Linked DNA regions of Homo sapiens: all the other regions are linked to region 1. The links are contacts of gene promoters, found by promoter capture Hi-C in blood cells and fetal thymus (Javierre and others, 2016). All regions are on one chromosome and are shown on one strand. The core of a region is centred on a gene start or on the middle of the fragment in contact, and the rest is flanking DNA. Distances in the headings are between cores, read along the strand shown. Region 1 holds the start of MRPL15 (mitochondrial ribosomal protein L15). Region 2 has its middle 8.5 kb from the start of RB1CC1. Region 3 has its middle 74 kb from the start of RB1CC1. Region 4 holds the start of NPBWR1 (neuropeptides B and W receptor 1). Region 5 has its middle 21 kb from the start of NPBWR1.

Region 1 (5,731 bases), core at 1,311-3,810:
AGTACTGATTATCTGGAAATCAAAAATATCTCCTACGGGCCAGGCATGGTGGCTCACACCTGTAATTCCAGCACTTTGGGAGGCCGAGGTGAGCAGATCACTTAAGGTCAGGAGTTCAAGATCAGCCTGGCCAACATAGTGAAACCCTGTCTCTACTAAAAACAAATAAAATTAGCTGGGCATGGTGGTGGGTGCCTGTAATCCCAGCTATTCAGGAGGCTGAGGCAGGAGAATCACTTGAACTTGTGAGGTGGAGGTTGCAGGAGCCGAGATTGCGCCACTGTACTCCAGCTCAGGCAACAGGGCAAGACTCTGTCTAAAAAAAAAATCCTCCTATATAACACCAAAAGATCTAATCAAGACTTACCTCCTCAACCAGCTGGACACCATAATCCCTTTTAAGTGGCTGGATGGTCACACCTCTCCCATTGACAAGCTGGGTTAAGTCAATAGGTTGACTAGGATCAACACGACCCAAATCAATAAGATACTGCAGTCTATTGAGACTCAAAGGCTTATACTGGCGTCTGAAACTGTAAAACAAGAATGTAAGAGTTGGAAAACTCTCATCTTCCTGTAACTTCTCGAAATCAACTCAAAGCTTTGTCTTGTGTTTTCCTCCACCAATTTTATTTAACTAAACAAAACCCTCTTGAGTGTAACACAAACATGTAATACTGCTTGATTTTGGGTAATGAAAACAAACCTGTACCACCTTTGTTCCACTAAAAATTATTTCCCTCTCTAAGCATTTACTTCACTTATTTACACAAATAAATCTGTGGAAAATTTAACTTACTATGGAGCTCAAAGTAATAATGGTAGTTATCATTTATTAGGTGACTACAGTGGGCCAGATTTTTATGTATACTGTCTATTATTGCTCACTCTTTTAATAACCATTAGAGCTGGCATTAGAATCTCCATTTTGCAGGTCTAAGTGCAGTGTCTGGGCCTCTTTTCCTTTTAATAATCCAGGCAAGATTTCATTACCAAAAAATGGTTCAGGGGAACAGTAGCAAAAGTTTGCTTCAAAGTGAATTTACAATTTCCACCAAAATTTCTACCAAACTATTTTTAGGTGCTTTTTAATGGAAATTGGGGACCTGTACTTTAAAAAGCAAAGCAACCTTACCTATGTCCTTCGTTAAACCCGTATTTTGGGATTCGGATGTAAAATGGAGTCTGGCCTCCCTCAAAGCCCAAGCGGGGCCGGGTTCCTCTTTGCCTTTCTCCTTTATGGCCTCTGCCACATTTTCTACCTCTTCTCCGACCTCTTGGTCTTCTCTCCTGCAAGGAAAAAAAAGAATTTTATGAATTTCAGATGCATTTCTAAAAACTGCATTTCAGCTCTTCACTTTTTGTTATGCTGTTCATTCATCCAGCCCACCAGTGCTAGCTAACACTATTGTGTCAAGCATGTCCTAGTTGCTCAAAGCTCCACACACTCTGTTAGCATCTTTGCCTCTAAAGACATAGCTAATTCTTGTAACCAAAGTCCAAGTGTGTTTCAAAAGCAAAAAGTAAAGGTTAGGATGGGGATAAGGTTTTTATAATAGGTTGAAACCGAAAAAAATCCTAGAATTAAATATTCACAACATTTTAAATGATAGGCAAGAATTTATTCTGAAATTAATTGTAAATATGCAAATGTTATTCATAAACCTGTAATTTTATTTGAAAACTGATCTGTTGAAGAAAATCTTTTCCTTAATTTCCTGTCATTTCACGAAAGCAATGAACTGACTGTTAAAATGACAGTACATTGTCAACTAACAGCTTTTCTAGCTCTATTTAGTCAACTGCAGAAGGGACAGCTGCAATTCAGATCTTTCCAATGAACATAAAGATACACCGGGAAAACATTTCATTTTAAATCCAATTTTGAATGACACAAAGACTTTGTAGTTTCAGCGAGTCGGCTTCTCCGCCTGGTATCTTTACACTTGTAAACATAACCTTATTAAGAACTGGGTGCGGCCGGGGGCGGTGGCTCACGCCTGTAATCCCAGCACTTTGGGAGGCCGAGGCAGGCGGATCGCGAGCTCAGGAGTTCAAAACCAGCCTGGCCAACACGGTGAAACCACGTCTCTACTAAAAATACAAAAATTAGCCGGGCGTGATGGCGGGCGCCTGTAATCCCAGCTAATCGGGAGGCTGAGGCAGGAGAATTGCTTCTGGGCGACAGAGCAAGCCTCCGTCTCGGAAAAAAAAAAAAAAAAAAAAAAAAGAACTGGGTGCACGTGGAAAGATTCCCCTCTGGGCAGTAAGGGAGAACAGGCATGAGGCAATCCTATTTTCATCCCAACACTCTCCTAGAAAGGGCAGTTCTCCTAATGACAGGGAGAGAAGGGCCGCTTTCATCGCCCGGGTCCCCAGCGCTTCCCCGCACCGCCACCACCCATTTACCGGTTTCTTGGAGCCGGGATTCGGCTTTAAGTTGGCCAGGCTCACACGCGGCAGGCCCCGGAGTAGGTCCAGGGCCCGGGCCCCACCGCCCTGCAAGGGACCGGCCATAACCCGCAGATCCAAGAACTTTCAAGGGCGCCCTGAGCTGCTCGGAGGCCACGTGGTCTCGGGGGCTGCTTTGTGGCCGTGGCCCCGCCCCTGTCGCGCTGCAGCCGCGCGCGCAAGCCCGGGAGTCGGGCAGAGGCGTGGGAGTCTGCAACCTTGTCTCGGTTGTCCTTTTAGTTGTTTGGGGATGTGATCTTATTTTCCGAGATCCTGCTTTGTCCTCGGGGTCCCTTTTAATATTCTGAACGTAAAACCTTCTCTTTCGCCAAACGAGAGCATGCACTAAAAACACTGCGTTAAATAAAGGATCTTTTTTGAGTCAGTGTTGGGCCTTGCCTGTTTGTCTAGGCCGTGTCTTCTCTGAGGTCAATGCAGAACCCAGAGTAAAGCAAAGTGAGCTGTCAATTATTAGCTTTTGAGCTTGCGTAATTATACACCGTGAGGTACGAAAATAAAACTGAGTGCACCTATCAAAATGCCTGGCTAATAACCAATCTTTGAATAAGACTCAAAGTGTGAACTCTCATCCGTGTGCATCTGTATTGTTTTGAGTGAATCGCAGTTAGTAACCACCTATTGTTAATGACTGGCGCCATACTGAATGCCTGGTGTATGCCAGACGCTGTATTAAATAAGCCTTACTCGATTTACAGCCATTCTAGAGGTAAATGGTGTTACTACATTTTACAGTTACAACAGGGAAGGCTTAGCAAGGTCCGATAGCTTGACCAACTTCTTGCAACAAGCGGCAGAGCCAGGATTCAAACGTACACTGCTTCCTACTATAAAAGTAGTATTTTTAGAATGTAAAATTGAGTATCTGCATCACAAAATACGAACATTATTACTCGAAAAATACCAGCTCTTCTTTTTTCTCTCAAGTGACTTAAATATAGAAAAGACTGTTCCTTTCTTTTTCTTTCTTTTAGTAGTGGTTTGACATTTCACTTGCTGGGGAGTTTTTTCTGCTAGCTCTAACTAGTAATCACAAATAATGAAGGTGAGACAATTTTTGGAGGGCGTCTGTCTCTAGGTATAACTGCGTCTTTTTAAAGTTCCTTTAAATCAAGTGTAAAATAACTACATAAAGAAAAAGTTGTATTCATTCCTTCAAGTACTATTTATAAGTAAGACACTGAACTTGTTGGAAATACACATGGATGAACTCAAATAGGATTTCATTCCCAAGTTGTTTGAAATCTAGTAGGGAACAGTTTCCAAAAGTGAATTATTATTATTATTATTTTGAGACAGAGTCTCGCTCTGTTGCTTAGGCTAGAGTGCAATGGTTCAATCTCAGCTCACTGCAACCTCTGCCTCTCTGGTTCAAGCAATTCTTCCGCCTCCGCCTCCTGAGTAGCTGGGATTACAGGCGTTCACCAGCACGCCCCGCTAATTTTTTTTTGTATGTTTAGTAGAGACGGGTTTTCGCCATGTTGGCCAGGCTGGTCTCCAACTCCTGGCCTCAGGTGATCCCCCTGCCTCGGCCTCCCAAAGTGCTGGGATTACAGGCGTGAGCCACGGCGCCTGGCCCGTGAATGTTTTTTAAAAGTTAAAGATAAAAGTAGGCCTCTTGTAGACTAATTAGCAAAAACAAAATATGTGAGTTCGATAAAATGATATGATGGTAAAGTCTAGACTCTATTTAGAAGCACAGAAGAAATAGAATGGGGTGTGGGGGGCAATAGAACCTATTTTCTGCCTTTAATGATTTTTGGTTTGTTTGTTTGAAATGGAATCTCACTCTGTCGCCCAGGCTGGAGTGCAGTAGCGCCATCTCGGCTCACTGCAGGCTCCTCACCCAGGTTCAAGCGATTCTCCTGCCTCAGCCTCCCCAGTAGCTGAGATTACAGGCATGCACCACAACGTACAGCTTTTTTAGTTTGTTTGTTTGGTTGGTTTTTTAGTAGAGACTGGGTTTCACCACGTTGGCCAGGCTTGTCTGAAACTCCTAACCTCAAATGATCCACCTGCCTTGGCCTCCCAAAGTGCTGGGATTACAGGTGTGAGCCACTGAGTCCAGCCTGCCTTTAGTGATTTTTAATTCAGTAGTTTTCATTGTGTTTTTATTAAACTTTCCTACCTTTGGGAAGAAAATTGCAAAATATAATTGCAAACTGTACCCTAATCTACAGAAAAGTGCACAATTATTTTCAATCCCCAAAAAATCATTGTTTGCATTAAGTAATGAACTTCTTGATTAAGTGTTAATGCCAGTAATGTTTTTTATCATGGAAAATTTTTTTATTGAATAAATAAAATACAAGAAATATGCTGCACTTCTTGGAAGTAGAAGTCGTATGGGTTATATAATGTTATTGGTGGACATCAGTTAATAATAATGGGAATAACAATTGTTGACAGTTAATTGTAGGCTACGTGTTTGTTTATCCCATATCCAACATGTTGATTAAGCATATAAAACTGTCAAAATAATTTGATGAGTTTCGTTTGTGTTGTAAGAATGTAAATTAAGGGTGTGTGGTCAATAAGTCAACAATCCTTACCTTAAGTATATAGTAGTTTTATGTCATCCTCATAATTGCACAAGTCATATTTATTACCCACCTACATGCTTGGGATGTGCTAAATCCTGTTTAAATCAAGTTAACAAGAACTTGTAATAAAAACATTAATATCTCAACAACTATTTAAGGTCCATCCTGATTCCAACCCCAGTTGATAATAACTGCTGAATCATTACATAATAACAATGAAGCCGGGCGCAGTGGCTCACGCCTGTAATCCCAGCACTTTGGGAAGCTAAGGCAGGCGGATCACCTGAGGCTGGGAGTTCGAGACCAGCCTGACCAACATGGAGAAACGCCATCTCTAATAAAAATACAAAATTAGCTGGGAGTGGTAGTGCATACCTGTAATCCCAGCTACTCAGGAGGCTGAGGCAGGAGAATCGCTTGAACCCCGGAGGCGGAAGTTGTGGTGAGCCAAGATCACGCCATTGCACTCCAGCCTGGGCCACAAGAGCAAAACTCTGTCTGAAAAAAAAAAAAAAAAAAGAATGAAGTGATACAATTTGAACTGCTTTGGAAGACTTCACACACTGCCACGAAATCTTCCCCAATCTATATATATATCAGCACCTGACAGTGTGTTAACATAGATTAATTCCTTTGAGTTAATTATTTTTCTAAAAAAAAGTTTTTTTGCCGGGCGCGGTGGCTCATGCCTGTAATCCCAGCTCTTTGGGAGGCCAAGG
Region 2 (5,731 bases), core at 1,752-4,251, 1.4 Mb after region 1:
GCAATGGTGCAATCTTGGCTCACTGCAAACTCCGCCTCCCGGGTTCAAGTGATTCTTATGCCTCAGCCTCCCGAGTAGCTGAGATTACAGATGCCTGCCACCACATCCAGCTAATTTTTGTATTTTTGGTAGAGACAGGGTTTCACCATGTTGGCCAGGCTGGTCTTGAACTCCTGACCTCAAGTGATCTGCTTGCCTTGGCCTCCCAAAGTGTTGGGATTACAGGCATGAACCACTGCGCCTGGCCTCTCAATTGCATTTTAATTGTTTATTGCTATTGTACAGAAATACAACAAAATATTTTCAAGTAAAAACAATACTTCTGAAGCAGTTATATGAAATAGGAAAAAGATAATTTTTTAAAGTCACTTAATGTGGACTTTAACATTTTTACTTATTTTGAATCTGTACTACCCACTGTGTTGAGGACATATCATAACTTTTTTTTTTTTTTTTTTTTTTTTGAGACGGAGTCTCGCTCTGTCACCCAGGCTGGAGCACAGTGGCACAATCTTGGCTCACTGCAACATCCGATTCCCTGGTTCAAGCAATTCTGCCTCAGCCTCCCAAGTAGCTGAGATTACAGGCATGCACCACCACGCCCAACTAATTTTTGTATTTTTAGTAGAGATGGGGTTTCACCATGTTGGCCAGGAGGGTCTTGATCTCCTGACTTTGTGATCCACCCGTCTTGGCCTCCCAGAGTACTTGGATTACAGGCGTGAGCCACCACACCTGGCCTCCTAACTTCTTAATAAAGCCTAGCTGAACCTTCTTCCAGAAAACCTGTCATTTTCAGTTCATTTCTTGGTGATATTGAATTTTTTTTAAAAAAAATCTTAAAACAGGAGCATAAAATTGCTCTTGAGAGCCTTAAATATGGTAGGGAAAATACAAGCATTTCACACAAGTATCTCTTTGGTCAGCTTCCAGAACTCTGGGAGTAGAAAAAAATGAAAGGAGAGGAGACAAAAAGCCTATAACATGAATGTAAACGGTAAGAAAGATGTGAACTTTAAAAATATTTTATGGCAATTCTTTTCACAAAATGTTTTAAATGTAACTAGATGTTTGTACTAAAATACAAGCACTTCATACATTTTAAAAACCACTGGAGTTAGATTTTTCAAAAAGTGTTGATTGGCTAATGTAAAATTTCTGTAGGGACCGTACAAATGTCAGAGCTACAGTATATTTTACATGCGATTTTTCATTCTAACCTATAGAACAATGTGAGGTAGCTAAAGTAGATATTGCCAACACAGTTTCAAAATGAGGAACTTGAATTTATAGATGTTAACTGATTTTCCAAATCCAAATGAAGTCCCAGATTTTCCAACTCCTTAATGCAGCCAACTTATGATGTATGTGTATAAACTATATACACATATTTTAAAAATTAAGGCACATCTGAGAATTATATGAGTTCAAATTAATCCATAATAAGCATACAAACACATAGAAAGCTTTGTGTGTAGATTAGGATTTTTCTGAGGAGCTTATTTCAAGGGAGGGGCGACATCTATTGACAGAAAGAAGATTGAGCAGGACTGTGAGGATTTTTAAAAATTTAGTCTTGTTTCTCAAAGCCATTCCTTGTATTAGAATTCCCCCTAGAACTTATTAAAAAATGAAGAGCCCTGAGCCCTGCCAGTGGTGAAGTGTATTTGACACTCAGAGTAGATAATTTTTTAACATCCCATTCCTCTATAGTTTCAGTAACAATAGAACAACAATAATAGTAATGGTTAGAAAAGAAATTGACAGCAAAATTTTTTAACTGAAACTTTAATCAAGGCAGTCAAAATTTAAAAGTTAAAAAAAAAAAAGCCACACAAATATTACAAAACCAAAAAGAAAAAATCTATACTACTTGATAGTTTTGAGATCTGCCTAGGAGTTTTAACTTTGACCCTTTGTTAAAAAGTCATTTTATGTAAACAATTGTCCAGCAACTAATAAGTGAATTTCAATAACATCTACAAGATATAATTTGTTTCTACTAAATCATATTGATGATAGAGTGTTTTACTTCTTGATTTTTAATTTTAAATGAATAAACAATGAAACCGGATAAATTTCAATTTTAAAGATATTTAAGTTTTGTAAGGTATGTCACACATGAACTAAATTTTGTACTTAGTAAGTGGTTCCACAGAATGACAGAATGAGATGGTAAAATGAGATGGAGTCAAAAACCCACGACTACCTTAAATAGAAGGGACAGAATAGTGACTGTTGGAGAGAATTTGTGGATGCAAATAGGTTTGCAGATTTCAGGGCAGAAGAGGAAGTTCTTTTCTCATGGCTTCTATTTCCTCAGTGTTGTAGGAGGTGAGATTATTTACCAAAGAGAGAACTGGGAAGGGGTGGGAATTAGGGATTCAAGAATAGTGCAGACAATCTGATGGAGAGTAGGAAGAGTGAACTACTAGGGAAACAACACAGAAGGCTGAGGTAGAATTGGAACCCACGTTTCCAGACATTCAGTTCAGTGGTCCTTTTAATACATCATACTGAAAAGGAATGACTATTGGGAAAAGTATTTTGCATGAATGGATAGCAGGTAGGGTTGATTAAAACAAAGGGATCATTTGAGGAAGAAGGCAAAAAAACAAATGGTGTTATTAAAATAAATGGACTTCAGAGAATTGGGAAAAAAGCATTCATTTTATATGATAAACAACAGAACTCGTTTTAAGTTACAAAAGACTAATGGTACATTTTTCAAAAATATGTAGTCTGGAAAATGAAGAAAAATATACACATAGGAAAAATCACTTAGAATTTAATTTTGTACTTACTTAGAAAGCTTTCTTAGACTTCATTAGACACATTTTTATTATATTGCCCATACATAAAAATGAAAATACAAGCAAATTACATTGGTAAAGGTATTTCTAAAATTTCATCACTTTTGAACTATTACTTCCGACTCAGAGATTGTCTGGGTTTTTCCACAGAATTTATCCTTTGCAGCACTGAAAGCACTGGCAACAAGCATTTCCTTACAGAATCCATAAAAGAACTAAAGCTGTGGTGCTAGGTACCTAGCTGTCTTTGGGAATGTTGTACAACACATCTTATTCATCAATTCTCTCACCATTATAGTTTGGATTTTTTTCCAATCTGGTGTTTTTGATGTCTTATAGTAAGCACAGGAAATGGATGGCATTGGTTGACAAGCTTGGAGGACCACTATCCATCCACTGTTAAATGGACCCAGATTTCAGAGATGTTAAAATACGAAACATAGTAAAACAGAGTAGCTTGCTACTTTGTTTTCCTTTGTCTTTAAATATTTTTTGGTTGGGCAGAGTGGTTCACGCCTGTAATCCCAACACTTTGGGAGGCTAAGGTGAAAGGAGAGCCTGAACCCAGGAGTTTGAGACCAGCCTGGGCAACATGGTGAAACCCTGTCTCTACAAAAAATACAAAAATTTGCCAGGCATGGTGGTGGGCATCTGTAGTTACAGCTATTAGGGACAGTGAGGTGGAAGGATTGCTTGAGCCTGGGAGGTTGAGGCTGCAACAAGCCGTGGGTGTGCCAATGCATTACAGCCTGGGTGAGAGAGTGAGACCCTATCTCAAAACAAAAAAAAAATTAATATACATATTTTTACAATTTTTTTAGAATAGGGTCTCACTTTGTTGCCCAGGATGGAGTACAGTGGTGTGGTCATGGTTCACTGTAGCTTTAAACTCCTTGGCTCGAGCAATCCTCCCACCTCAGCCTCCCAAGTAGCTGAGACTAGAGGAGTGCACCACCACACAGAGCTATATTTTTATTTTATTTTTATTTTTATTTTTTTTATTCTCTCTGTCGCCCAGGCTGGAGTGCAGTGGTGCGATCTCGGCTCACTGCAAGCTCCGCCTCCTAGGTTCACGCCATCCTCCTGCCTCAGCCTCCCGAGCACGCCCGGCTAACTTATTTTTGTACTTTTAGTAGAGACAGGGTTTCACCATGTTAGCCAGGATGGTCTCGATCTCCTGACCTCGTGATCCACCCGCCTCGGCCTCCCAAAGTGCTGGGATTACAGGCGTGAGCCACCGCGCCTGGTCTATATTTTTACTTTTATTTTTGTAGAGACAGGGTTTCGCTATGTTGTCCAAGCTGGTCTCAAACTCCTGGCCTCAAGTGATTCTCCTACCTCAGCCTACCAGAGTGCTGAGATTACAGGTGTGAGCCACCATGCCAGGCCTGTTTTAAATATTCTTCTAAAATATAATATTAATGGCTGCATAGTATTTCATTATATAGATGTACCACGTTTTCCCTGAATTCTGAGAAAGGGGTTGATTTTGTCCCTCTGGGAACATTACAAAATGTCCAGAGGCATTTTTGATTGTCATAACTGGGGTGCTACTGGCATCTAGTGGGCAGAAGCCAAGGAGGTTCAACATCCTAAAATGTACAGGACAGCCCCTTATAACAAAGAATTAACTGGTAGGTATGAGATTGAGAAACTCTGTAACCTATTGCTAGACATTTTTTCTTTTTTTGTTTTTGAGACAGGGTCTCACCCTGTTGCCCAGGCTGGAATGCAGCAGTGCAATCTTAGCTCACTGCAACCTCTGCCTCCCAGGCTCAAGCAATCTTCCCACCTCAGCTTCCCAAGTGGCTGGAACTACAGGCGTATGCCACCACATGCCTGGCTAATTTTTTTTTTTTTTTGTATTCTTGGTAGAGATGGGGTTTTGCCACATTGTCCAGGCAGGTCTAGAACTTCTGAACTCAGGGCTATCCACCTGCCTTGGCCTCCCCAAGTGCTGGGATTACTGGTGTAAGCTGGGAGCCACCTTGCTGAGCCAATTTTTTTTAACCCCTGCAGGACCAGCACCAAATTAAGGGGGAGCATAGGCTATGCATAGGATATATAGGATATAGCCCGTACAATTGGATTACCTGGGTTCAAATCCTGGCCTTGACAGTTACTAATTTAAGAACACTAACTAGAAGGAAGTACATTGAATTAGCAACTTAACCACTCCATGCCTTATTGCCCCATCTGTAAAATCAAAGAAAATTTACAGAAACTGCATAGGGCTGCTAAGACAACTAAACAGGTTGATAAATTTAAAACCCATGTCTGGCATCTAAGATACACCCATAAGTGTTTCATGAGCTCCGTTAGGTCATGCTTTTTAAAAAATACATTTATTGACCAGCCGCGGTGGCTCACGCCTGTAATCCCAGCACTTTGGGAGGCCAAGGAGGGCAGATCACCTGAGGTCAGGAGTTCGAGACCAGCCTGACCAACATGGAGAAACCCCGTCTCTACTAAAAATACAAAATTAGCCAGGTGTGGTGGTGCATGCCTGTAATCCCAGCTACTCGGGAGGCTGAGGCAGGAAAATCACTTGAACCCGGGAGGCAGAGGTTGCAGTGAGCTGAGATTGCGCCATTGCACTCCAGCCTCCGCAACGAGAGTGAAACTCCCATCTCAAAAAAAAAAAAAAAGAAGCATTTATTTATAAACACTACTGAGGCACTGACAGAAATAGGAAGGCACTGACAGAAAAATCAGGAACAAAGAATCTCAAGGTTTGGGGCCTAAGTCATTGAATCTAATATCTCTGAAACCATTGGATGATAGTAAAATCGATGTAATGTGTAAGACTAGCAAGAGGAAAAAAAAACAATAGAAGGTATCAGAGTATATCACAAGCAGCAAGTACTTTTTCCTGTGTATGTATACCAGGTCACAATGTGAAACTGTATTTCTTAATG
Region 3 (5,731 bases), core at 1,157-3,656, 1.3 Mb after region 1:
GCATAAAACTGTTGTAAGGTTAAATGAAATAATACAAAGCATTAGGCACAGTGCCTGCAACATGATGCTCTGGGACGCAAATCACTCATGTCCGAGTTGGAAGCAGGTCAGCACCCTGAACATCCTGATAAACCTGCACTCAGGGTAGGGTTACAGAAAGGAAAAGGGCTTTGCCCACACACATCAGAGCCCACCTGTCTTCAACCTCTACATCTCTACATCTCTCTACTTCACAGCTGAAAAAATAGAGGAAAGTTCATGAAAGCTTGGCCTGGAGTCCACTCTGGGAGAATGTCAGCAGTCCTGCTGAACCACAGTGAATGATGTTCCTGAGAGAGCTATAGGGACCATAGTTCCACAGGGGGGTTTCACTTATGGCAGAGAGGTGAGGAGTGATGTGATCGGTCACTGACCAGGATGAGCACGTTATTCATTTAATGATCTGTGAACTGATTCCTGGCAGTGATGTCAGTACTTTATAAAATTACTCACAAATTAATGTATCATGGTAACAATTGAAATTTTAACTGTGTTGTTAGAAGCCTGGCTTATTAAGCTTAACTATGGTAACTGATATTCACGCCTACTGAAACCAAGCACAACAAGGACTGCCTGTATTTGTTTTTGACTTATGTGTGCCAATAATGTGGGAAAATCTTAGGGAGAGTGTAGGACCTAATCCCTACCTCCTTCCTCCCATTTCCATGCAAAACCTTTCCTTTACCTGCTTGCCATGGTAGGTAGAATTCTGCTATGATGGTCAGCCAACCCTTAGTGCTCATAAATTGCCTTCATTTGAACAACATTTATTGAGTACACAATGTTCTACACACAAGGAGTATAGTGAAAAACAGGTAGAGATGGCCCCTTGCAAATGGAGCAGATATTTCAGTGGAGTCAGAAAACAAAATGAACAAATCCATCTAAAGCATGATTTCTAACTGTGAAACTCTCTTTGAAAAAATAGAAAAGGTGATGATAAAAGAGAGGCCTCTGTGGGTGGGGAGGAAGCTATTCAAGGTTGAAGGGTTAACAGAGACCCCTCTGAGATTCCGAATGAGCAAGCACCCTGCATGATGGGAAAGAAGTAGGTTACAGCAAATGAGAATAAAAATGCATTTGGAGTGTCTTAGAAAAGCAAGAATGGTGTCTGGGTCCCACGAGCAAGGAGTAGAGTAATAGGACATGAAATAGGAGAGCTGGGCCAGATCACGGGTTTCACAGGCCATGGCAAGGAGTTTGGGTTCATTCTAACTACAACAGGAAAACACTGAACATTTTTATGCAAAGGACTGGCAGGATAAGAGCTTTGTTTAGATGGAAATATATCTCTGATGGGTGACAAGCTGTTGCTAGTTGGAAATAGAAATGATAATTCTGTAGCTGAGCAGAGAGAAATAATTTGGGATGATGGGTGCCAGCCACACTGAGTAAGCCGAATTGGGACACTGCAGTGCAGGGATGGGGGATGTTCCAGGGTGCCAAGGACCAGCATGAAGACAATGGGCACCTTCTGGGCAGGAGGCAGAAACACACTGCCAATTTACCCTCCTGGCTGGGTGATCCTGGCCAGCAGCAATCATTGCACAGGAGACATAGAAGCTGCCTACCAAAATGGCATTCTTGCTACCCTGAAAATTGCTATTGTTTGGCATCCTTTTTTCATTTTTCATCCTTTGTCACTAACCCAGATCTCCTATACCCAATGGAGTTAGGAGGCAGCTAAGAAAGAAGATGTAGGAGTGAGAGGCAGGAGAAATGATCCCTTAACTCTGTTTCCAAAATCTCTGAAGGAAGTTGAATCTTTCCCCGGTGCTTTGACTCCTGAAAGTAAATCTGGAGTTCTGTAAACGTGGAAGAAATCAGACAGAGAATCTTTTCTATAATACTATAAAATTGTCACCCATTGTAGTGCCTAGGTGGCTTAGCTGGGCCCCCTCTCTGCTTTTGTTGCCCAATGTAATGCCTACATGACATAGCTAAATTCCTACTGGGCTTTAACTCTGCTTATTTTTAGGAAGCAGGATGCCTGTGGTCATTAGTTCCTTCTTAGAACTAAACTGGCTGAAACTGGTGAAACCCAGTATGGCCGCCTACTTGACCTCTGAAGAACCTCTAGCTTCATTATAATCCAATTTCTATGCTAAGTGACACTCCCACCAGCACCATGACAGCTGACAATCACTATGACAATAACCAGAAAAGACCAAGAAAGGACAAAAAAGGCAGCTCCCTGTTCTAGGAAAATCTTCATTGCTTCCCAAAAAAACCATGAATGTTCCTCCCCTTGCTCTTAATGCCCAACCCCTTCAGTGAAGATACCCTGAATTTGTAATTTCCTGGTTCTCAGAAACTGAGAAATTGATTTGCAAGCTACGGTCCCACTTCTCCAATTCCTTGGCCTTAGAATAAAGCCTGCACTGCTTGACACTTTCGGCTTTTTGTATTATCTTCACAACACTGAACAGGAAAGAGCCCTTTTTGGGGTATCCAGGACCCCCGGTGACAAAACGAGGTCCTTTTGTTAGCAGAACTCCTTTAGGTAGGGTGAGGGAATGGAGACTGCTTGGATTTTTGAAGTCAACCAAGCTCAGATTTAAATTCAAATTCATTTATTTGAACATCAGTTTCTACTTTGCGTGGAAAATGGGTTTTAGGATGACAATGTTCCTCTGGAGATCGAATGAGACAAATGCTATATATAGTATATGAAAATTTCTGCACATAATGAGTGTTAAATAAATATTTAGTATATAAAATACAGAATATATGAAAATCCCAGGCCAGGTGTGGTGGTTCACACCTGTAATCCCAGCACTTTGGGAGGCTGTGGCGGGCAAATCACTTGAGGTCAGGAGTTCAAGACCGGCATGGCCAACATGGTGAAACGTTGTCTCTACTAAAAATACAAAAATTAGCCAGGTATGGTTTGTGGTAGATGCCTGTAATCCCAGCTACTCAGGAGGTTGAGGCAGGAGAATCACTTGAACCCAGGAGGTGGAGGTTGTAGTGAGCCGAGATTGCACCACTGAACTCCAGCCTGGGCGTCAGAGCCAGACTGTGTCACAAAAAAAAAAAAAAAAAAAAAAGAAAAGAAAAGAAAAGAAAATCCCTGGCATCTAGTAAGTGTCCAATTAGATTGTCCTTCTTCCACTTGCCACCCATTTACTTCCCCTCCTTCCCTTGAACAGGATGCATGACAGGTCCAGACTATACTAAATTTTCCTTAGTATTAAAGTATTATTCTAAAGTTTAGCCTTTAGAATAAAGTTGGGGGGGAAGGAACAATTAGAAAGTCAATGGAAACATTCAACTTTGAGCAGTGCTGGGGGAGGCAGATAGAGGATCCAATCAATACTCCCTTTGTAGTGCTGTTTTGTGTAGCAGTTTGTTAAAATGATGGCTATCGCATTCAACCCTGTCCCAGCCCCGAAGCAGTAGTAGTCAATTCCATATGCACGAAGCACTTTGGCGCAGATGTTTTGTGAACTGCACTGGGGGGAAGAGGGCCCTCCAGGCAGGCAGGCTCATGAAAACATTCTAAACTTTTTAAAAGATCAAATGACTGTGAAATTGAGTTAAATGTTAAAATCAGAATGCCAAGCTAGTCAAGAATCTGGAATGGTCATCCAGCTAATGTCTTTCTGCCCAAACAGGTTAAGACCCCAAAGATTACTGACATTCAGTTGAACAGATATTTAATAGTACACATACTATATTCTAGATAATAAGCTATGCAGTGAGACTGCACACAAGGGGAGGGAAGAAGACTCTAAATATCTGGTAATAAATTACTTTTCCATTTAATAATCCTTATTAAAATTGTCTCTGACTCCTTATTATTATTATTTTTGAGACAAAAAATACAAAAATTAGCCAGGCACAGTGGCGTGCGCTTGTAATCCCAGCTATTCAGGAGGCTGAGGCAGGAGGATCTTGAACCCAGAAGGTGGAGGCTACAGTGAGCTGAGATCACGCCACTGCACTCCAGCCTGGGCAACAAGTAAGACTCCATCTCAAAAAATAAAATAAATAAAGAACTGAAACACTATCGATTATAAGGGGAAGTGTACTGATGTCTGCAATTTACTTTGAAATGAATAAAAAGCCAAGATGAGTTGATGGATGAGAAAGGGATGGACAGACTGATAGCCATGCAATAAAGTAACTATAGTAAAATATTAATTGTAAAATCTAGGTTGTGCATATATAGGTATATACTGTAAAATTCTTTCAACTTCTCTGCTAGAAGCTTCCTATGATAAAAATATGAAGAAAATGAATAATTATACTTCCTATACATTTAGAATTAATATAGCACTATATGAATAACATTATAAGCATTCACCTGGGATTGTCTACATCTTTCAAATCTTTGGCCATATTTGGCATTGCCAATCATGTTTCCAACCAGTCACCCCTCTTTATATTTGCATAGTTTATTTTTTCACCTATGTGCTCTCTATTCAAACTCATTAAGAGGCATCATGAGAATTATAGATCATGCTTCCATCTTTATGGTCATTTTGAAACCATATACTTGTCAACCCCCCACACTCACCCCCTCACCAGGACTGTGGTTTTTCCAGGACTATTTATCCTGTCTGATCTTTGCATAGGCAGTGGGAAAATGGCAGTCTCCTGGGTTGGTCAATGGCCAGCTTATTTGCCTGGGTGCCTAATTTCAACAGAGTCATCATGTTGAGATTATTTTTAGCCCCATAACTTTTTCAACCAGCAGGTACCTCACACACTAAATGGCTCCCTGCTCTTGCCTTTCTCAACAGGGTCTTCTAATGAAACTATTATATGTCTTACTTATGGTGTCACGATCAGTCAGAGGTAAAATGAAGAGAGAAATCCAAGCTTTCTGATTTCACAAAGGTCCTTCCCATTAGTCCCCACTCATCTAAATTGCCTTGAACTCATTTTAAAAAGAAAAAGAGAGTGCAGATAAGGAAACGGTTTGCCCTCATGTGACTAATTTAGACAAAATAAATATTATTTCCATGGTTACCTGTGCAAATAATGTTCTACAGGAATACATTCACTCCATCATCTTATGAAGTGCAGCAGGACTTCTGTGTAGTTAGAAGGCTGGTGTCTGTCAGTAAAGTTGTCATAGAAGGGACCAAATCCAGCAGCCTGGAGGCCAACAGCCAGGGGACATCAGGATTTTTAGATGAATAGACATGGATGGGGAGCGAGTGTCAGCTAGGAAAGGAGGGAGTAGAGTAATAAAAATGATGGTGAGACCAGTATTGTAATCTCTTCAGTTTTGTAATGCTATTTTCTTTCTTTCTTTCTTTCTTTTTTTTTTGAGATGGAGTTTCACTCTTTCCCTCAGGCTGGAATGAAGTGGCACAATCTCGGCTCACTGCAACCTCCGCCTCCCAAGTTCAAACAATTCTTCTGCCTCAGCCTTCCAAGTAGTTGGGATTATAGGTGCCTGCCACTACATTCAGCTAATTTTTGTATTTTTACTAGAGACAGGGTTTCGCCATGTTGGCCAGGCTGGCCTCAAACTCCTGATCTCAGGTGATCCGCCTGACTTGGCCTCTCAAAGTGCTGGGATTACAGGCGTGAGCCATCATGCCCGGCCTGTAATGCTATTTTCTGTAATCCTATAATATTGAAATGTCTTATTAATGACCATGAGCACATCTCAAAAGATTCCAAGCCTGAGAAGGAAACAGTGGGCAGTATAGGGTCGGTGAATGTGTGCAAACAT
Region 4 (5,731 bases), core at 915-3,414, 1.2 Mb after region 1:
CTACTAAATATTTAAAAGACATCATTGTTTTCTAGTCTAATATTTCCAAATTACACATTGCAACGAATTCCATCTCTGCTGAAACAAGATGACACAATTCCTAGAATAGAATGGGAACTGGGTGGCTCTGATTGGTCTTCACTGATCTTTGTGGGCCTGGCTAAATTGATCCACTTCCTTGTATCTCACTTTCTTTGTATGTAAAATGGGGGCCGAAGTGCCAGACCCAAAGCTGTGCTAATAAAAGACCATTATGGGCAGAATTCTCTGATCTCTTTCTTAATGTGCATAAGCATAGATGATTAATATCCAAGGAGAGTTTACTGTTTTTTTGTCTTGCTGTTGTTTTCCCAGCATGTTGCTGAGGAAAGAAGGGTTTATAATAAGTTCGTGAGTTTTTCAGGTGAGATTCTCCACCTTGCATATTTGTGCTATGTCTATGCATATTGCTGATAGCAATGTGTATACTAATAATTGAAGCAATTTCTCTTCCCTTCTCCCCCTCCACATAGCTGCTCAAATATTTAAGAAATGAGGCTTTTGATGGTATGATAGAAGTTTAGCATCCTTTCTCTGCCCAGCATAAGTTCTGGAATCTCTGTGTTTATCAGCAGCTTTGCATCATTTTCACAATCAACCAAATTAAGGGGTGGGGGTGTTCATTCTTAATTTTGTCCTGTCAAATACTTCTATTTATTCATTGAGTATTCATTGGATCACTTTTCCAATGAAGGCAGTATTTTTAAATAGTAACACTGCACAAATGCTAAGGTGACTTAATTGTGGATAACTTGTTCTCAGAAAATAGAATGTTCACTTATCACACAGAATGTTTCAGCTTTTATTTTAAACTGAGCTCCTCTACAATGGACTACAGAGTTTCTGCGTTTGTCAAGAGAAAACATAAGCATACACATTACATAACTGCACTAAATTAAGTAAAAGCAAATAGACATTTTTAACTATTCAAAGTGGTAAAACCAAACCATAGAGTTTACACAGAAACTGCAAGAATTCAACACAGTGTTAAAACCTTTGCAATACAATGATGTGAATAAATTCTACTTTTGCCTGGCTTATGTGTGTATTTATTCAACCGATTACCCAAGACATAAAAAGGAAGCCTGAGATATACAGTCTACATGCTCGTATGAAGGGCAACGACCTAGAAATAATGATACAACAGTTTATCCAGTGATCAGAAAGCCCAGGAGGAACTCAACTGCTGAGACCTGATTAATCCCACAGGCATACTCAGAAGCCAGTCCATGCCTTGCTGGGGATGAACAGCAATGTCAGCCCGTGTATTTTTCCAGCAGTCATCTCCATAGATTCCAAGAAGGCTCGAGGTCAATCTACTGTAGGGATGAAACAGTGGACAGATGGATCACTCAGCTGTCCCCCATCTGAGTCCAGTTACTGAGCTTATTAAGACAGATGAGATACTGAATCCAGACAATCACTCCAGCTGTGTTTGTAGCCAAATGTTCACCTTACTCTTTGTCCATCACCTTAGGTAATCTAGAAGTTACTCTAAGTTTAAAACTTTAATTTTGAAAAGTTACAGAGGATTCATGAGATAATTTTGAGAGTTTAAGGAAAATCAATAGAATGTTTCCTAGAAATTCGAAAGATATTAAAATGAATTCCAAGAAGCCTCCGAAGCCGGCCAGCAGAGAGAGGCCTGTTCAAATGCCATGAGGTCCACCACTCGAAACTCATTGTAGATGAAAACTTTCTTTTAAACAATTTACTATTATTTGCCACCCAAGACAGAAGGTTTTTTAATGTATATTTTCTAAACTGATGGCTATGAATTATTTCAATGTTCCTAAAAACTCTGAGAGCTAAGAAAGCAATTCTTATTCACCAAAATTAGAGAGGGGGTTTGCTTCCCCCCATTCCAAGGGGGAGTTTTTTCCTTCCAAATATTTATTAAAAGCTATTTTCAACCTAAATAATTGAGAAATTGATTGAAGATGCCAAACTAAGCAAACAAAATGTGCTGCAACACTCACATTTTTTTTTCTCACACATGACATAGGAAACAAACATTTGTAGAAATTTTCATCCTGTTTGGACTTCATCCTAAAGATTAATACCTTTTAAAACACCATAATCAATTACCAGACTTTGCTTAGGGTTCGGCCCTCATGTCTAAGGCTAAACTGCAGAGGATTGGGCAAACCCAATGCCAGTCCTCTCTCTTAATCCACTTTGTCTTCCATATGCAGAGACAAAAACACAGGTAGGATGCTGGCCAATCTCCCTGGTGACTCCAGGACCAGTATTTACCCGGTTTACCGGGACTACCTACCGGATGCCGTCTACAAGTAAGGAATAAAGCCCAGGTAATCCACAGCTCCCTGTGAAAAGTACAGCAGAGAAAACCTGAAGCCGTCGGTCATCCCTGCTTCCTGCTCTCCCTAAGGCGGAGCCAAGGAAGCAGAGGAGAAAGGGAACACAAGAGAATAGATCGCATTTCTTTTTATCTTATTTGATCTTCATGGCAACTCGTGAGATTAGGACATGTACATTATTTATAAAGTTTTCAGTCCTGAAAAACAGTACACACATGAACAGTTACAACAAACTGATCTAAGTAAGACAAGAGACGAGGCCAATTGGGGGAATGGGGGTGGGGCTTGGCATCCTCTATAAGCAACGATGACCAGTGTGCCACAGCGCTGTGAAGCGCGCTCAGCCGGAGTGCTCCACCACAAAGCCCCGCGATCCTCCGACGCTAAGCACTCGGCCGCTGGCTCCTCCAGGGGGCGCCGGAACCGCGCGCCCGGGCTACTCCGGGTTCCTTGCTCCGGGAGTCTGACATTTTCAGGGGAGATCACGGATAGGAAAGGGAAAAGGCAAAGAAAAGGAGTAGGGGCAGACAGAAAGAAGGATCACTATTCGTATCATATTCTAGGCAGTCACTGCCAAGCGCCAGCCTCTTTCCCCGCATTTCATGCCTCCGCAAACGCGCGCACACCACACACACACACACACAGGTGTATACACACTCCGATGGGGCATCCCGAGTTGTTGTGTTTTCCCCAGTTGAAGAGGCGCTGGCGGCCTCGGCAGCGGTCCCCGCCCGCGGCGCCAGGCCAAGCGGGTCTCACAGGGGTGGGCGCCAAACGCGCGCGCCTGACCGTCTTCCCAGAGCGCGCGGAGGACAAGGGGACCCGCCGGGGCTGTGCGCCAGCTACAGCAGGGGCCGCGCGGAGCCGACGCCTGGGGGCGCCGGCAGCGTCCTCGGGCCTCCCTTCGAAGGCGCGGAGAGTTCCGACTCCAGCCAGGTTCCAGACTGCCAGGGCTCGGGTGGGGCAGCAGGGAGCAGGGCAGGGAGGGGGCGGTTCCCAGCAATACCGCCCTCCTCCTCTACCCTCCTCTTCCTCCACCTCGGCTTTAGGGAGCCCTCAGTGTGGCGATCTCAGCCTCAGTTCTCCTCACCCGGCATGGCCGCGCATCACCTGGAGGGCTTGGCAAGGTCAACCTGCGGGCACAGTCGCAGCGCTTCCGATCTGCTAGGTCGGGTATGGGGCGCGAGTCGGTTTCCCCAGGAGGCCTAGGCGGCCTGTCTGGTCCCGCACTCTGGCGCCGGCTCCTCCCTCGCTGGCCAGGAGTGGCGGGCAGTTGCGGAGCCGGACGCTGGGGGAGTCAGGCTGCCGCGCGGCAAGTTATCAGCTGGCGGAGGTTCCTGCGGAAGCTGGCGTCCAGGAAGGCGTAGAGGAAGGGGTTGAGGCAGCTGTTGGCGTAGCTCAGGCTGGTGATGAAGTAGGAGATAGCGATGACCAGCGGCGTCTGCGGGAGGTCGGTGGTGAGCGCCACCACGGTGCTCAGGTGGTAGGGCGTCCAGCAGAGGAGGCACACCGCCAGGATTGCCACCACCAGGAAGGTCACCCGCTTCTTGGCGCGCTCCAGGGCCTTGGCGTGGCTGTCCAGCCGCATGGCATGCAGCCGGCACAGCAGGGTGGTATAGAGGACACAGATGGTGGACACGGGGATGGCGAAGCCCAGCACGAGCGTGTAGAGGCGGCTCGCGCGCCACCAGAAGGCCTCGGGCTGCGGAAAGACTAGCACGCACTGGCGCCGGCCCTGCTCGTCGTCTAGCCGGGCGAAGACTGCGAAGGGCAGCACGACGAGTGTGACGATCCCCCACACGGCCAGGCTCACCGCGCGCGCGGCGCTGTAGGTGCGGCCGGCCACCCGGCGCGACTCCGCAGTGGCCAACACCACCAGGTAGCGGTCGGCGCTCATGACGGTGAGGAAGTAGAGGCTGGAGAAGGTGTTGTACTGGTCGATAGCCACGATGAGCTTGCACATGAGCTCCCCGAAGGGCCACTGCCGCAGCAGGAAGTCGGCGATGTTGATGGGCAGCACCAGCGTGAAGAGCTCGTCGGCGATGGCCAGGTTGAGGATGAACAGGTTGGTGACGGTCTTCATGCGGGGCGCCCGCAGCAACACGTACAGCACGGCGGAGTTGCCCGCCAGACCCACGGCGCAGATCACCGCGTAGACAACTGGTACAGCCACCGCCAGCGGCGCCGGCAGCGGCGCCAGAGTCGACGCGTTGGAGCAGCTCAGCGCCGGGTCCGGGCCCGATGCGTTGGCGGGCCAGGGCTCCGAGAACGAGGCGTTGTCCATCTCAACGAGGGCAGAGGAGCCGGCGACCTGGCGTCCCCCAAGGACGCCCTACGGAGCTCAGCGGTCCTGAAGCCCGGTTCTGCACGGACCTGCTCGCGGACGCTCGTTTCAGCTCTCCAAGCCGTTCTCTGGTTTTTCCGGAGGAGGGGACCGTTCCCAGCCACCCCACGGCCCAATGTCGCCGCGGACTCACGGGGCTGGAAAGAGGAATTTAAAGCATAGGTTAGTTCGTCGACGTGTAACTTTAGAAATAGGCGCGGTCCCGAGGAGGGGTGGGGGTGGCGCCGCGGCGCCCCAAACCTCCTCCACGTGAGCGCTCTCTGCTACCTGTTGAAATCTCACTTCTACCAGTTGAATACATCAAACGAAATGCTAGAGAGAGAAGAATCCTCCATAGGAAAAATGCAAACCCTTCTCCCCTCTTTCAGGAAACTTCCGTAGACCCAGGTTACCCCACAGAATCCCGCAGTGGCAAGCTTCGGTCTCCCCAGGGTCTGTGCGCCCTCAGTAACAGCAAGCTCAACAGCAGTCTTTACCTTACCTGGCTGGCTGGGGAAGGGGTCTGCCTTTCCTGGAGCTGTCAGGAGAAAAGCCCGCCGGCTGCGGGGAGGCTGAGACGCCTGCCGGCTGGGTGTCCGCCTCCCCCTGTCTGCCTCCCCCGAGTTCGCCAGAGTCCGCAGCTCGCGTCCCCGCCGGTCCCTCCCGCGCGCCTGGAAGTGCAGGGATGGCGCAGCCGCGACTGCGTTCCACTGCCCTGACCGCCGCGCCCACCCCCACACCCCAAGTAAAATGGTCTTAGAACAGAGAACAGAAATTCCCCCAAATTTAAGGGATTCCTTTCTTCCATCCCAGTCGTGCAACCTCACTCCATCTGAAATAATAGAAAGCTCTCCTGTTAAGAATCGAATTTAAGGAAAACAAAGTTAGGGTGTAAGTGATCTATTTTTAAAGGAGAACAATGTAGTGGAGGCGCCTGTTCCATTTTTTATACACCGTAACACAAATAGGCTAATGTAATGTGAAATCTGAAAGGAGGAAAAAGTGAGTGCAATTTTATAATGCAAATCACCTGTTTTCTGCTACTCTG
Region 5 (5,731 bases), core at 1,680-4,179, 1.2 Mb after region 1:
CTTTATAAGTTTCTATTTTGCTTCCAAATTTTATTAAGAAATTGTTCTAACATGGAGAAAAGTTGAAAGAAAACTGTGAAGAGCACCTGCATTTCCTCTAATTTTAACTGTTTTGATGTACATGCTTTCTAAAGGTAAATACACACATATTTTGCCAAATAATCTAAAAGTAAATTACAAATACGATAACACTTCACCCCTCATGTTTACACCTTCATATCCTAATAGAGAAATTCTCCTATATACCAAAATACCTTTTCTAGAAGCAAAAATTTACCAAAAAATTTAATAATTTCTAAAATCTAATCCACATTCAGATTTCCCCAGTTGTCTCTGAAAGCTCTTTTAGAGCTGGCATTTCAAATCGGGATGCAGTCAAGGTGCATGCATTGCATTTGGTTATTATTTTTCTCTAGTCTATTTTAACATTTCCTCCATCTCTTTTGGGTATATGTGTGTTACATGGACTTGTTTGGAGAGATCAGCAAGACAGTTGTCTTGTATCTGAAATTGGTGGGTTCTTGGTCTCACTGACTTCAAGAATGAAGCCGCAGACCCTCGTGGTGTGTGCTACAGGTCTTAAAGATGGTGTGTCCAGAGTTTCTTCCTTCTGACGTTCAGACGTGTTCGGAGTTTCTTCCTTCTGGTGGGTTCGTGGTCTCGCTGGCTTCAGGAGTGGAGCTGCAGACCTTCGCAGTGAGTGTTACAGCTCTTAAGGTGGCATGTCTGGAGTTGTTTGTTCCTCCCATCCGGAGTCGTTTATTCCTCCTGGTGGGTTCATGGTCTCGCTGGCCTCAGGAGTGAAGCTGCAGACCTTCACGGTGAGTGTTACAGCCCATAAAAGCTGTGTGGACCCAAAGACGGGGCAGTAGTAAGATTTATTGCTAAGAGCAAAAGAACAAAACTTCCACAGTGTGGAAGGGGACCTGAACAGGTTGCCACTGCTGGCTCGGGCAGCCTACTTTTATTCCCTTATCTGGCCCCACCCACATCCTCTTGATTGGTCCATTTTACAGAAAGCTGATTGGTCTGTTTTGACAGGGTGCTGATTGATGCGTTTATAGTCCCTGAGCTAGACACAAAAGTTCTCCAAGTCCCCACTAGATTAGCTAGACACAGAGCACTGATTGGTGCATTTAAAAACCTTGAGCTAGACACAGGGTGCTGATTGGTGTGTTTACAATCCCTTAGCTAGATATAAAAGTTCTCCAAGTCCCCACTAGACTCAGGAGCCCAGCTGGCTTCACCTAGTGGATCCCGCACCAGGGCCGCAGGCAGAGCTGCCCGCCAGTCCCGTGCCTTGTGCCCACATTCCTCAGCCCTTGGACGGTTGATGGGACTGCGTGCCATGGAGCAGGGTGCAGTGATCGTCAGGGAGGCTCGGCCCTGCAGGAGCCCACAGCAGGGGGGAGGCTTGTGGATGATGGGCTGCAGGTCCCGAGCCCTGCCCTGCGGGGAGGCAGCTGAGCCGGCAGGCCCACACTGCTGGGGGACCTGGTGGACCCTCTGCAGCTGCTGGCCTGAGTGCTAAGCCTCTCACTGCCTGGGGCCAGTGGCACCGGCCGGCCGCTCTGAGTGCGGGGCCTGCCGAGCCCATGCCCACCCAGAACTCGCACTGGCCAAAAAGCGCTGTGCACAGCCCCAGTATCACCCACAACTCTCACTCCACACATCCCCGCAAGCAGAGGGAGACGGCTCCAGCCTCTGCCAGTCCAGAGAGTAGATCCCACAGTGCAGCGGTGGGCTGAAGGGCTCCTCAAGTGTGGCCAGAGTGGGCACCAAGGCCAAGGAGGCACCAAGAGTGAGCGAGGGCTGCCAGCATGCTGTCACCTCTCAATCCACCCTCTAAACAGGACACCCCAACTACTGTTGGGAATTTGGCCGATGACCACTCTAGCTAATTCCTGTTGGATGGGGTGATGAAGGGGCCCTGTAGTTGTAGTGTTCTCCAGAGGGGAACTCTCTAGGGCAGTGAAAGTGCCCACGAGTCAGTCCAGGGTCCTCGGTAGAAGTCGTTAGTTGAACTCATTTGGGGTTCCATTTGTAAGACCATCTGTAAGTTGATGACCTCAATTCTAGAGGAAACAAATTTGACAAGAAGGTTAAAAATACAGGGTCCAAAGGTGAGTAACAGCAAGATGGCTGCCACGGGACCTAGAAAGGGGAGAAGCCACGTTGCCCAGCTCCAGAGGTTGGTATAAGAATTTGAAAGGCGTTGCCTGATTTCAGAAGCCTTTTCCTGTAAATGCCGGGTGGCATCTTGTACTATCTCCGACTGGTTAGTGTAAAAACAACACTCTTCCCCTAAGAAGGTGCAGAGTCCTCCTTTCTCAGCAGTGAGGAGGTCTAGGCCTCAGCAGTTTTGGAGAGTCACTGCTGCCGAAGAGTCTATTTGGGATTGTAAAGTAAGGATAGTTTTTTTATTTCTTGCAAACTGTCTGAGAAATCCTTTCAGAGTGTGTAGGATAATGAAGTAGATAAACCAGCTATTCTGTTTCCTGTAGCAGTAGCCATTCCTAACCCTATAAGTAAGGGTATTAGTAGTATGGCTCTTCGCTGACAGACTTGAGCTTTGAGGGGTACTGATAGGGTTTGATTTCCTGGGGCAATGTTAATGTTGTGACTTAGAAAGACTAAGGTGCAGGTGTCGGTCCAGTTAGTGGGGAGGCAGATATAAGTCAGTGTTCCACATAAGAACAATATGCCTTGTCTGGGTAGACAGAAATTTACCCTGACTTTTAAAGGAATAGGGTACACTGTTTTTTTCTTTACTACTTCCATTTCTCTTTCTTTCTCTTTGACTTCTTCTTTGTCTCTTTCTCTCTTTTTGACTCTCTCCTTGACTTTCTCTTTGACTTTCTCTTTGACTTTCTGTGTCTGTCTCTCTCTCTCTCTCCTTTTCTTTCTCTCTGTTTCTTCCTCTCTCTCTCTTTGACTTTCTGTCTCTTTCCTTTCTGCTGCCTCCACCAGCTGCTCATGCTGCTGTTCTCCCCTCTCCTTCCCCTCTTTGATGGCTTTGGCAGTGTAAGACTGCCACCTCCTTGGATTTTTGCATTACGTGCAATAACTCCGTAGTTTCCTTTTGATGCTCAATGGGGGTTCCCCCAGAAGTCAGGAACTCCCTTTCTTTCTATATTCAGCATGGACATGTAGGATTAGATAAGCATACTTGCTGTCTGTATACACACTTATTCTTTTTCCCTTTCCCAGTTCTGAGGCTCCGGAAAGTGTCACTAGTTCCGCTAACTGGGCACTGGTCCCTGGGGGAAGAGGCTTACATTCAAGTATGGTTACATCACTAACTATGGCATAACCTGTCCTTCGTATCCCATTCTCTACAAATGAACTTCCATCAGTATATAGGTTAAGGTCAGGATTAGCTAAGGGGACTTTTAAGAGATCATCTCAGGTGGCATAAGTCTGGAGTATAATTTGTTGGCACTCATGCTCAATTGGTTCCCCATCCTCTGGGAGAAAAGTGGCAGGGTTGAGGGCCACGCATGTGTGTATTTGAAGCACCAGTCCCTCAAGGAGTAGCGCCTGGTATCTAAGTAGGTGGTTGTCTGATAGCCATAAACTCCATAAACTTCCTTTGGCAACTAGTATGCCATTTACATCATGAGTAGTACAGACAGTGAGATCCTTTCCTTGTATCATTTTGATAGCCTCTGACACTAAGATGGCCACTGCTGCAACTACCCATAAACAGTGAGGCCAGCCTTTTGCTACTACATCAATTTCCTTACTTAGTTGTGCCACTGGTTGTGGAGTTGTCCCACGAGTCTGAGTAAGGACTCCAAGAGCTATCCCTGCTCTCTCTGTGACATATAAAGAAAAGTTTTGTCCTGTAAGAAGGCTTAAAGCTGGATCTTGTACTAGGGCCTGCTTTAAGGTTTTGAAGGCTGTTTCTGCCTCTGGTTCCCATTCTACTAGATGAGTATTTGCCCTCTGGGTTTCCTTGATTACAGTATAGAGGGGTGTGGCTATCTCGCTGTATCCGAGGATCCATAGTAGGGAAAAGCCGGTACTTCCAAGGAACCCCCACAACTGTTTTAATGTCTTAGGGTGAAGATAAGCCAGTATAGGCTGTATTCATTCCTTGCTGATGGCCCTGGTCCTGCTGGCTAAGATTAAGCCTAGATATTTGGCCTGCTGTAGGCAAAGCTGGGCCTTTGACCTAGACACCTTATACCCTTGATTAGCTAGAAAGTTCAAGAGATCTAGAGTAGCCTGCTGGCAGGAGGCTTCCGAACTGGTAGCCAAAAGTAAATCATCCACATACTGAAGGACCAGACTGCCTGGACTTGAGAAGTGGCCTAGATCTTGGGCCAGTGCCTGATCAAACAGATGAGGGCTATCCCTAAACCCTTGGGGCAAGACCGTCCACATAAGTTGGGATGTTTGGTCTGTGGGATCCTCAAAGGCAAAGAGAAACTGGGAGTCAGAGTGCAGGGGAATACAGAAGGAATCCTTGAGGTCCAGAACTGTGAACCATTCTGCTTCCTCTGGTATCTGAGAGAGCAGGGTATAGGGGTTGGGTATAACTCGATGTAGAGGAATTACTGCCTCATTGATGAGTCTAAGATCTTGCACTAGTCTCCACTGACCATTCAGGTTTTGTATTCCTAGAATTGGGGTGTTGCAGGGACTGCTGCATTTCCTTACTAAGCCTTGAGCTTTCAAATGTTTAACAATATTCTGTAATCCTTTATGAGCTTCAGACCTTAAGGGATATTGCCTTTGATAAGGAAAAGCGGTGGGATCTTTTAACCTGATTTGGACTGGGTGGGCATTTTTTGCCCTTCCAAATTGTCCTTCCAAAGCCCAGACTTCAGGGTTGATTCCCTCTTCAAGTAGGGGACAACAAATGGGTAACTTGTTCCCCATATTCATGTAGATAATAGCTCAGCCTTAGCTAATATATCCTTCCCTAATAAGGGTGTGGGACTTTCAGGCATAACAAGAAAGGCATGTGAAAAGGGCAAAGTCCCCCAAATACAACGGAGGAGGTGGGAGAAATACGTGGTTACAGGCTGTCCCAGGATTCCTCAGATGGTAACAGACCTTGAGGACAGTTGTCCAGGACAGGAGATTAACACTGAGAAGGCTATGCCAGTGTCCAGGAGGAAGTCAATTTCCTGGCCGTTAATGGTTAAAGGTACCCGGGGCTCAGAGAGGGTGAAGATATGAGCTGGTGCTTGCCCTGGGCACCCTCAGTCCTGTTGTTGGATCATCTGGTTGGGGACTTCTGACCCAGAGAACCCTCATCCTCTGGGGCAGCGCACCTTCCAGTGATTGCCTCAGCATAGTGGACATGGACGAGGGGGGCAGCTTGTTTCTCATTGGACAATCTTTTTTAAGGTGTCCTAGTAAACCACACTGATAACAAGCCCTACCAGGTGATTGGCCTGCTCCATTTTCTGTCCTCCCTGAACCACCAAGGTTTGTTTGTCTGAGGGCCATGACCAAGGCTGTGGCCTTTCTCTGATCTTGTTTTTCCTTTTGGGCCTATTTCTCTTGGTCCCTATTATAGAACACCAAGGTTGCCAGGTTTTAAAATGCCTCCAGATTTTTTTCAGGGCCCAGGGCTTACTTTTGGAACTTTCTCCTGATATCTGCACCTGGGGCTGATTGGGTAATAAATTTATCTTTTAGAATCAATTGACCCTCAAATGATTCAGGTGACAGGGGAATATATTTTCTTAAGGCCTCCCATAGCCGCTCAAGGAAG

The links. The method cuts DNA at HindIII sites, captures the fragments that hold promoters and counts their contacts. A CHiCAGO score of 5 or more calls a contact.
Region 2: a fragment that was not itself captured here is called in contact with the fragment with the promoter of MRPL15 in region 1 in 9 of 17 cell types (non-activated CD4 T cells, total CD8 T cells, naive CD8 T cells and 6 more); the score reaches 11.3 in non-activated CD4 T cells.
Region 3: a contact is called between a fragment that was not itself captured here and the fragment with the promoter of MRPL15 in region 1, in 1 of 17 cell types (naive CD8 T cells). The highest score is 5.4, in naive CD8 T cells.
Region 4: a fragment that was not itself captured here is called in contact with the fragment with the promoter of MRPL15 in region 1 in 3 of 17 cell types (naive CD8 T cells, naive CD4 T cells and total CD4 T cells); the score reaches 5.5 in naive CD8 T cells.
Region 5: a fragment that was not itself captured here is called in contact with the fragment with the promoter of MRPL15 in region 1 in 2 of 17 cell types (naive CD8 T cells and non-activated CD4 T cells); the score reaches 6.1 in naive CD8 T cells.

The regions. Positions count from the first base shown.
Region 1 is chr8:54,132,070-54,137,800 of GRCh38, reverse strand. MRPL15 (mitochondrial ribosomal protein L15) reads right to left here and starts at 2,560. Exons shown (of 5, transcript NM_014175.4): 1 at 2,410-2,560; 2 at 1,136-1,290; 3 at 368-533. The coding sequence starts at 2,517. The HindIII fragment of the contact is 13,913 bases long and covers 604-5,731 here.
Region 2 is chr8:52,720,062-52,725,792 of GRCh38, reverse strand. No RefSeq gene overlaps it. Among named protein-coding and RNA genes, the nearest start is that of RB1CC1, 8.5 kb to the right of the region's middle. The HindIII fragment of the contact is 374 bases long and covers 2,815-3,188 here.
Region 3 is chr8:52,785,110-52,790,840 of GRCh38, reverse strand. No RefSeq gene overlaps it. Among named protein-coding and RNA genes, the nearest start is that of RB1CC1, 74 kb to the right of the region's middle. The HindIII fragment of the contact is 3,696 bases long and covers 559-4,254 here.
Region 4 is chr8:52,938,821-52,944,551 of GRCh38, reverse strand. NPBWR1 (neuropeptides B and W receptor 1) reads right to left here and starts at 5,370. Exons shown (of 2, transcript NM_005285.5): 1 at 5,186-5,370; 2 at 818-4,841. The coding sequence starts at 4,644. The coding sequence ends at 3,658. RefSeq lists enhancers at 3,932-4,563, 4,564-5,195. The HindIII fragment of the contact is 5,917 bases long and covers 1-5,122 here.
Region 5 is chr8:52,957,327-52,963,057 of GRCh38, reverse strand. No RefSeq gene overlaps it. Among named protein-coding and RNA genes, the nearest start is that of NPBWR1, 21 kb to the right of the region's middle. The HindIII fragment of the contact is 6,943 bases long and covers 1-5,731 here.